Regions from separate parts of the Homo sapiens genome. Here region 2 is linked to region 1. The links are contacts of gene promoters, found by promoter capture Hi-C in human tissues and cell types (Jung and others, 2019). All regions are on one chromosome and are shown on one strand. The core of a region is centred on a gene start or on the middle of the fragment in contact, and the rest is flanking DNA. Distances in the headings are between cores, read along the strand shown. Region 1 holds the start of ABCB5 (ATP binding cassette subfamily B member 5). Region 2 overlaps LOC105375180 (a long non-coding RNA gene).

Region 1 (4,884 bases), core at 2,119-4,618:
GGGAGGCCGAAGTAGGTGGATCACTTGAGGCCAGGAGTTTGAGAGCAGCCTGGACAACATGGTGAAACCCCGTCTCCACTAAAGGTACAAAAATTAGCCTGCCATGGTGGTACATGCCTGTAGTCTCAGCTACTTGGGTGGCTGAGGCAGGAGAATCTCTTGAACCCGGGAGGTGGAGGTTGCAGTGAGCTGAGATCGTGCCACTGCACTCCAGCCTGGGTGACAGAACAAGATTCCATCTCAAAAAAAAAAAAAAAAAAAAAAAAAAAAGAAAATGCAGCACATATATGCCATGAAATCTTTTGTAGCAACATAAATGCAGCTGGAGGCTATTATCTTAAGTGAATTAACATGGAAACAGAAAACCAAATGTTGTATGTTTTCACTGATAAATGGGAGCTGAACATTGGGTCCACATGGACATAAAGATGAGAAAAATAGCCACTGGAGACTATCAGAGGTGGGAGAGAGGAAGGGGAGAAGGTGCTGAAAAACTACCTACCGAGTACTATGCTCACTACCTGGGCGAAGGGATTATTCACACCTCAATCCTCAGTGTCACACAATGAACTCATGTAACAAACCTGCCTGCACAGGTAAGCTCTAAATCTAAAATAAAAGTTGAAATTATATAAAAGGTGAAGATAGCCATATAAATGAAATACTGATACATGCTACATAAATAAACCTTGAAAGTATTATGGTAAGTACAATAACCCAATCACGAAAGACAACATACTATATAATTCCATTAATATGAAGTGCCTAGAGCAGGCAAATCCATAGAGAAAAAAGTAAGTTAGTAGTTGCTGGGTGGAGGAGAAATAGAGATGACAGCTAATGAGAGGGATACAGGGTTTCTTTTCAAGATGATAAAACCACTATAAATTGAATGTGGTGATGGCTGCTCAACTCTATGAATATACAAAAACTTTTGAATTGTACATCTTAAATGGGTACATTCTATGATATGTGAATTATATCTCAATAAAGCTGTTAGCAAAAAAGGGTAATCTTAAAGTTTCTAACCATTATTACAGAAGTTTTTATTTCTCTCTGCTTCTGTCAGTGTTTATTTAGGAGCTGTGATATTTTGTGGCTGTGTGCTTATAGTTGTTATATCTTCTTGGTGATTTGACTGTTTTATCACTATCTAATGTTCTTTGTTGTCTCTTATAAAAGGTTTTGACTTGAGGTGTAACTTGTCTGGATATTACTATAACCATTCCAGCTCTCTTTTGGTTAATATTTGCAGGATTATCTCTTTTTATCCTTTTGATTTTAACCTATTTGCCTTTAGATCTAAAATGATTCTCTTATTGACAGCATACAGTTAGATTATATATTTTTAATCCATTATAAAAATGCGATTTTTGGGTCTCACTCTAAAACTTCTGAATAGAATCTGCATTTTAACAAGATTGTCGAAGTGGTTTGTAATGCATATCAAATTTTGAGAAACATGACTATATAGTATCTAGCACAAAGCCTTGAGAAACAGAAGGCACTACTTATCTAGAGGAAATTTTATCTTCCTAAATCCAAGATTATAAAAATAAAGTTTAAAATACACCTTAGTGCTGACAACATATTGTTTTTATCTGCTGTTAATAGCACAGTTTTAAAGTATTGTCAAAGGACCTCTGGCATCAGAATCACCTGGAGTGCATGTTAAAGATATCAGACACCTACCTAGGCCTTGCCCCACATGTACTGAATGATAATCTAAAGAAATGCACTGGAAAAAAATCTACATTTTAAACAAGCTCATTAGATGATTTTTTAAAAAAATTTACTCATTCTATAGATATATACTGTGCCAGGTACTGTTTTAAGCACTGAACAGCCTAGACATCTTTGCTGTCATAGAGCTTAGACTCCATTACAGGGAGAGTCACAATTTTAAAAAAAGGCATACATAAATAAGGAAAATTAGAGAGTGGTCAGTTTTTGGTATATAATTAAAACAGGGTAATTTTATGAAGAGTAATGTGGTATTTATATACATCTGGTCAGAGAAAGCCCCTTGTAGAAGATAATGTTTAAGCTGCAATCTGAATTATAAAAGGAGGTTGCTATATAAAGATCAAAAAGACTATCCCAGGCAGAAGGAATACTATTTAGATAGTAGAGAAAAGTGCACTGAGACAAAGCGACACAAGGTCAAAGCAATTTGTGAGCCAGTTGGCAGGTCCTCACTGTATGGAAAGCTACAGGTTGACTATGATGGCTGCCCCCATGTTCCTCTCTGTTACCCAATGTTTCAAAAGGAAGATAAATTTAACTTGAAACTTGTCAAGTTTGAGATATTTGTGAGATAATCAGGTAGTAATATCCAGCACTAAGTAGATAACATGAGAGAAGAACTCTGAACATCTTAATTGCTCTACACAAAATCTATCAGTCAGCCAATTCTTACTTATTGACAGCTGTGTGGATGCTATCATGGCAAGTACTATGGAACATACAAGAAAATGTAAAAATAGACAGAATATTTTATTTATAAGGACTTTTGCCTTAAAAAATATTTCTAGGTTCATGTACCAAGATGGAAATCATAGGACAAAATACCCATGTGAGAAGAAATCATGAGATGCACTTAACGTTCAAGCATCCTTGGTAAGAATAATCTGACAAATAGCTAAGATATACTGGTTGGATGGAAAACATGGGATCTTTGGTTAGATGAAAGAAGATATGGCTGGGCGCAGTGGCTCATGCCTGTAATCCCAGCACTTTGGGAGGCCAAGGCGGCTGGATCATCTGAGGTCAGGAGTTCGAGACCAGCCTGTCCAACAAGGTGAAACCCCATCTCTACTAAAAATAAAAAAATTAGCTGGGCATGGTGCTGGGCACCTGCAATCCCAGCTACTCAGAAGGCTGAGCCAGGAAAATCTCTTGAACCCTGGAGGCGGAGGTTGCAGTGAGCCAACATCGTGCCACTGCACTCCAGCCTGGGTGACAGAGTGAGACCCTGTCACAGGGAAAGAAAGAAAGAAGATATGAATTGTATGGATGCTTTAAAATGACCAAAATAATAGTAGGATGATCATTTCTGACTATGAAAAAGTTTCATACACACACATTTTTGTTTCCATCTTTACCACAAACTATTCTTTCTAAGATGGAGAAGTGTTTTATATTCTTCACAAGCTTCAATTGTTTTCATAATCTCTAATACTTTTGCTTTGACTTACTTTAATTCCTTAGATGCTGTTTTGAGTGGGCCCCATCCAGTCAGTTGAAGTCCTTAAGAGAAAAGACTGAAGTCTTCTGAAGAGGATAGGATAAAGCTTTCAGATACAAGGTATCAATTTTTTGCCAGAATTTCCAGCCTTCTAGTCTGGCTTGTGGATTTTGGAAGTGCCAGTCACCACAATTACATGAGCGTGTTTTCTCTTTCTCTCTCTACATACACACACACACACACACACACACACACACACACACACGGCCTATTGATTCTATTTCTCTAGGGGAACCTAATATACCTGGCAAGACAGACGTTATGTGATGAATAGTACAAAGAGTGACTATTCTAGTATCTAAGAAGACTGAGGAAGAACATTGTGATCTAAAATGGTTTCGCCCACAGATGAGGATGGCCCTGAGGTTAGTTTCTGGAGGAAGGCTAAGGTTTCAGTAAGTAGAAAAATGTGGAGGAGGAACAAGGGCATAGTTTTAGGAATGCAAGGTGAATTATCTCATGGTAGAGAAATGAGAACGGTTTGGATAGGATGGACTGTTCATGCAGAAATGGAGAGAGAGATAAGGTACATACGATTGTAAAAGGCACTGAACCAATTTTTAGGACAACTTTTATAATTTTCTGGAATGAAAGAGACAAAGCCATTGGTATTTGGTACAATTAACCTGATTATTTGACATTACAGCCATGGATATACTGGAAGGACTTGGGGAAACACAAGATTTAAGTAGACTCATTAAAATCTAGTTTGATAGCAGTAAGTAAGACTATTTGAGAGGTATTTTTAAGGCGGTAGGTAGGTAAAGAGGACAAGGAAGAAGAAATAAAAAAAATATAAGTTCAGCGATCAAACTTTTAAAAGTTGTAACAAAAGAGTAGTAAAGATGGTAATAGAGAAGTTATGAGACAGAATTGGTTTTGGGGAAATGGTAACATTCAGTTTAAATATGCAAATTTGGGTTGATATTGGTGTCCAAGTGAAAATATCTGGCAAACAGATGTAAATGTGGCACTAATAATTAGGAAAATTGCCAACCTAGAGATAAACTTGCAATTGTCATATGCACAGAAGGAATAATTAATTTTGCTTTAAAAATCTCATGATGTCATCTAAATGCACAGAAGTGGTGTAATGTAGCTAAAAGTGTTACTTCTAGAGCAGAGCCATCCAACAGAACTTTCTGCAATAATTGAGATATTCTCCACACATCCAATATCCTAGCCGCTACACATATGTGGCTATTGAGCGCTTTTAATGTGCCTAGTGAGGGAGCTGAATTTTGAGTTTTATATAATTTTAATTAATTTATTTTATTTATTCAGCTTTAATATGTATAATTGACAAATACTATTGTCTATATTTAAGGTTTACAACATGATGATGTGATATACATATACATTGTGAAATGATTACTGCAATGAGCACATCCATCACTTCACATATTTACGTGTTTGTGTGTGTGCGTGTCTGGTGAGAACGCTTAAGATCTACTCTCTTAGCAAATTTCAAATATACAATACAGAATTATTAACTGTAGTCACCATCCTGTACCCATCTTATAACTGGAAGTTTGTACCCTTTGACCAACATCTCCCCATTTCCTCCACCTCCTAGTCTCTGGTAACCACCATGCTACTGTCTGCTTCTAGGAGTTTGACTTTTTTTGGATTTCACA
Region 2 (4,872 bases), core at 2,319-4,818, 1.0 Mb after region 1:
TAAATATACCATCCATATTCAATGCCAGATTTCCTGAGTTTGATCATTCTATTCTATTTAAGTAGAACATCTTTGTTCTCACCAGATACGTAGAAAAGTAGTTAGCTATAGACTGCCACAATGTCTGAAACTATGTCTCAGTAAATACAAGCTTTCCTATATATTTCATGTGACATTTCTACTGGTAAAATAAATCCACCGTCTTCATATCTCTGTGAAGTGGTAGGGCCAGCAAGACAGCTGATGTGGAGCCCAGAAGGTTTGATGCAGTAGCATCAGTAGTGGAGCACAGCCAGGGACAGCCATCCCTCTAGGCTCAACTTGCTCCCATAGCAGACTTTAGCCCTAGGGAAACTGCTGGACCTGATCTCTGCAGGGTAGTCTTGCCCAACAGATGGGGCTGCTCTGACCTGAGCACCCCGTGGTCTGCTGCCCACTCCTGGGGCCCTAGCCTGGCCACCCCTGCTTGCTGGGAAGTCTTGGGTGCCCTGGGGACCCACACCATAGCTTCTGCCCTGGCAGATTTTGCCTGACCAGTAGAAAGCTCCAGTGAGGCAGCCCTATGGACACACACCAGTCCGTCCGCTCCCTCCCTATAATGCACCTTCCTCCAGGCACACAGCAACTATCCACATCACTTTGCATGTGCATGTCTGCACAGGCAGGTTTTGCTTTCCTTGCCCTGCCAGCAGTCCAGCAGTCTACCCCCTGCCGACTGTCATTGCAGACAGAGCCTTGGCAACACAGAGCCAGAAAGCCTCAACCCCACCAGCACCCCACCCTTGCACTAACACTGCTCAGAACAGTGGATTCTCCCTCACCCTGAGCAATCACTTCTGCTTGCAGGGCACAGAGAAGGCACCCAGACCTGTATCCATGAGCACCCCACTTCCAAGTCAACGCCACCTCCAGCATGACCACACCCATAGTCTCCTACCCCACCCCCAGCAGCATTGTTTCTGCCACTGTGGTGAATGCCCTCAGGAAGGCAGGCACCCTGACACCCACTAGCACTCTGCCACAGCTACCGCACCTCCACTCCTTCCACCCACAGTTCAGTGGATTTCAGACTTCAAGAGACATAGAAACAAAGTTGGGGTCCAGTACAAGTCCCCAAGACTTACAGCATGCAGTCCAGGAGTTGGGAGCTGAGTGTTGGCCCCCTAAAATCTTCCAGAAATGAAGCTGGCTGAATTCACCTTATACCACAATCAAACCCTCAAGGTCATCAGATAGGATAAAAGAAAAAAAAATCTAAAGGTCAGAAACTTCAAAGATTGAAGATAGATAACCCCACAAAGATGAGGAAGAATCAGCATAAGATTCCTGAAAACTCAAAAAGCCAGAGTGCCATCCTTTCTCCAAATGACCATATCTCCTCTCCAGCAAGGGTTTTGAACGAGGTTGAGGTGGCTGAAATGACAAATAGAATTCAGAATATGGATAGCAATGAAGATCACTGAGGTACAAGAGTATGTTGAAACCCAATGCAAGGAAGATGAAAATCATGATAAAACAATGTAGGAGCTGACAGACAAAACAGCCAGTACAGAAAAGAATGTGACTGACCTAACAGAGCTGAAAAACACACTATAAAAATTTCATAAGGCAATCACAAGTATTAATAGCAGTATAGACCAAGTGGAGGAAAGATCGCAGAGCTTGCAGGCTGGCTTTCTGAAATAAGGCAGTTACACAACAATAGACAAAGAAGAATTGTAAAGGAATGAACGAAACCTTCAAGAAATATGGGATTATGTAAAGAGGCTGAATCTACGACTCATTGGTGTCCCTGTAAGAGATGGGAAGAACGCAGCCAACGTGGAAAACATATTTCAAGACAACATGCATGAGTAGTTCCCCAATCTAGCTAGAGAGGCAAACATTCAAATTCAGGAAATGCAGAAAACCCCAGTAAGATACTTCACAGAAGATCATCCTCAAGACACATAATCATCAGATTCTTCAAGGTTAAAATGAAAGGAAAAGAATGTTAAAGGCATCTAGAGAGAAAGGTCACTTACAAAGGGAAGCCCATCGGACTAACAGCAGACCTCTCAGCAGAAACCCAACAAGCCAGAAGAGATTGAGGATCAACATTCAACATTCTTAAAGAAATTACAATGCAGAATTTCATATCCACCCAAACTAAGCTTCATAAGTGAAGGAGAAATAAGACCTTTTTCAGCCAAACAAATGCTGAGGGAAATCATTACCACCAGACCTGCCTTACAAGAGCTCCTGAAGGAAGCACTACATATGAAAAGGAGACTGTTACCAGACACTTTAAAAACACACTAAAATACACAGACCAGTGAAACTATAAAGCAACCACATAAACAAGTCTGCAAAATAACCAGCTAACATCATGATGACAAGATCAAATCCACACATATCTATACTAACCTTAAATGTAAATGGGCTAAATGCCTTAATTAAAAGACAGAGAATAGCAAGGTGGATAAAGAACCCAGACCCACTGGTATACTGTCTACAGGAGACCCATCTCACATGCAATGACACACAGCTTTAAAATAAAGGGATGGAAGAAAATCTACCAAGCAAATGGAAACCAGAAAAAAGCAGGGATTGCAATTCTAGTTTCTGACAAAGCAGACTTTATACCAAAAAAGATAAAAAAGTAACGAAGGGCATTACATAACGGTAAAGGGTTCAATTCAATAAGAAAATCTAACTATCCAAAACATATATGCACCCAATACAGGAGCACCCATATTAATAAAGCAAGTTCTTAAAGACCTTCAAAGAGACTTAGATTCCCACACAATAATAGTGGGAAAATTTAACACCCCACTGACAATATTAGGCAGATTGTTGAGACAGAAAATTAACAGATATTCAGGACCTGAACTTAGCACTGGACCAAATGGACCTGAGAGATATATACACAACTCTCTACTCCAAAACAACAGAATATACATTCTTCTTATAGTTACACGGCACATATTCTAAAATTGATCACCTATTCAGAAGTAAAACACTCCTCAGCAAATGCAAAAAAACTGAAATTATAACAAACAATCTCTCAGACCCCAGAACAATCAAATTAGAAGTCAAGACTAGGAAATTCACTCAGAACCATGCAATTTCATGGAATATTGAATAACTTGCTTCTAAATGACTTTTGTGTAAATACTGAATTTAAGACAGAAATCAACAAGTTCTTTGAAACTAATAAAAAGAAAGTTACATCATACCAGAATCTCTGGGACACAGCTAAGGCAGTGTTAAGAGGGAAATTTATAGCACTAAATGCCCACATCAAAAAGTTAGAAATTTCTCAAGTTAACTTAACATCACAATTAAAGAACTAGAGAACCAAGAGCAAACAAATTCCAAAGCTAGCAGCAGACAAGAAAAACCCAAAATCAGAGCTGAACTGAAGAAGATAGAGATATTAAAAACCATTCAAAAGACTAATGAATCCAGGAGCTGTTTTTTTAAATGAATAAAATAGTTAGACTTCTAGCTAGATTAATAAAGAGGAAAACAGAGATTCAAATAAACACAACCAGAAACAACAAAGGGGAGATTACCACTGACCACAGAGAAATACAAATAACCATCACAGACTATTATGAATACCTCTATTTACACAAACCATAAAGTCTAGAAGAAATGAATAAATTCCTGGATATGCATAGCCTCCTAAGACTCAACCAGGAAGAAACTGAATCCCTGAACAGACCAATAATTAGCTTTAAAATTGAGTCAGTAATAAATAGCCTACCAACAAAAAAAGCCCAAGACCACATGGATTCACAGATGAATTCTACCAGATATACAAAGAAAAGCTGGTACCATTCATGCTGAAACTACTCCAAAAAATTGAAGAGAAGGAATTCCTCCCTAACTTATGCTACAAAACTAGCATCACACTGCTACCAAAACCTGACAGAGACACAACAACAACAAAAATTTCAGGCAAATACTCTTGATGAACATTGATGCAAAGTACTCAACAAAATACTTGCAAACCAAATCCAGAAGCACATCAAAAAGCTTATCCACCATGATCAATTTGGCTTTATCCCTGGGATGCAAGGTTGGTTCAACATCTGCAAATCAATAAATGTGATTCATCACATAAACACCAGTAAAGACAAAAACCACATGATTATCTCAATAGATGCAGAAAAGGCTTTTGATAAAATCCCATATCCCTTCATGTTAAAAACTGTCAATAATCTAGGTATTGAAGGAACATACCTCAAAGTAATAAGAGCCACCTATAACAAACCCACAGCCAACATCATACTGAATGGGCAAAAGCTGGAAGCAATCCCCTTGAAAACTGGAATAAGACAAGAATACCCTTTCTTATCACTCCTATTCAACATGGTATTGGAAGTCCTGGTCAGGACAATCAGGCAAGAGAAAGAAATAAAGGCATCCCAGTAGGAAGAAAGGAAGTCAAACTATCCCTGTTTGCAGACAACATGATCCTATAGCTAGAAAACCCCACAGTCTCAGCCCAAAAGCTTTTTAAGCTGATAACTTCAGCAAAGCCTCAGGATACAAAATCAATGTGCAAAAGTCAGTAATATTCTTATACACCAACAACAGTCAAGCCAAGATCCAAATCAGGAATGCAATCTCATTTAAAATTGCCACAAAAATAATAAAATACCTAAGAATACAGCTAACCAAGAAGGTAAAAGATCTCTACAAGGAGAACTACAAAACATGGCTCAAAGAAACCAGAGATGACACAAACAAATGGAAAAACATTCTTTGCTCATGGATAGGAAGAATCAATATTGTAAAAATGGTCATACTGCCCAAAATGATTAATAGATTCAATACCATTCCTATTACACTACCATTCAAATTCTTCACAGAACTAGAAAA

Evidence for each region. Contacts are between HindIII fragments. The study calls those that stand out against the background at their distance.
Region 2: a fragment that was not itself captured here is called in contact with the fragment with the promoter of ABCB5 in region 1 in 1 of the 25 tissues and cell types used here (pancreas).

What each region holds. Positions count from the first base shown.
Region 1 is chr7:20,614,151-20,619,034 of GRCh38, reverse strand. ABCB5 (ATP binding cassette subfamily B member 5) reads right to left here and starts at 3,368. Exons shown (of 28, transcript NM_001163941.2): 1 at 3,198-3,368. The HindIII fragment of the contact is 19,814 bases long and covers 60-4,884 here.
Region 2 is chr7:19,591,538-19,596,409 of GRCh38, reverse strand. The region is part of intron 3 of LOC105375180 (a long non-coding RNA gene); the gene reads right to left. Among named protein-coding and RNA genes, the nearest start is that of MIR3146, 110 kb to the left of the region's middle. The HindIII fragment of the contact is 4,832 bases long and covers 1,153-4,872 here.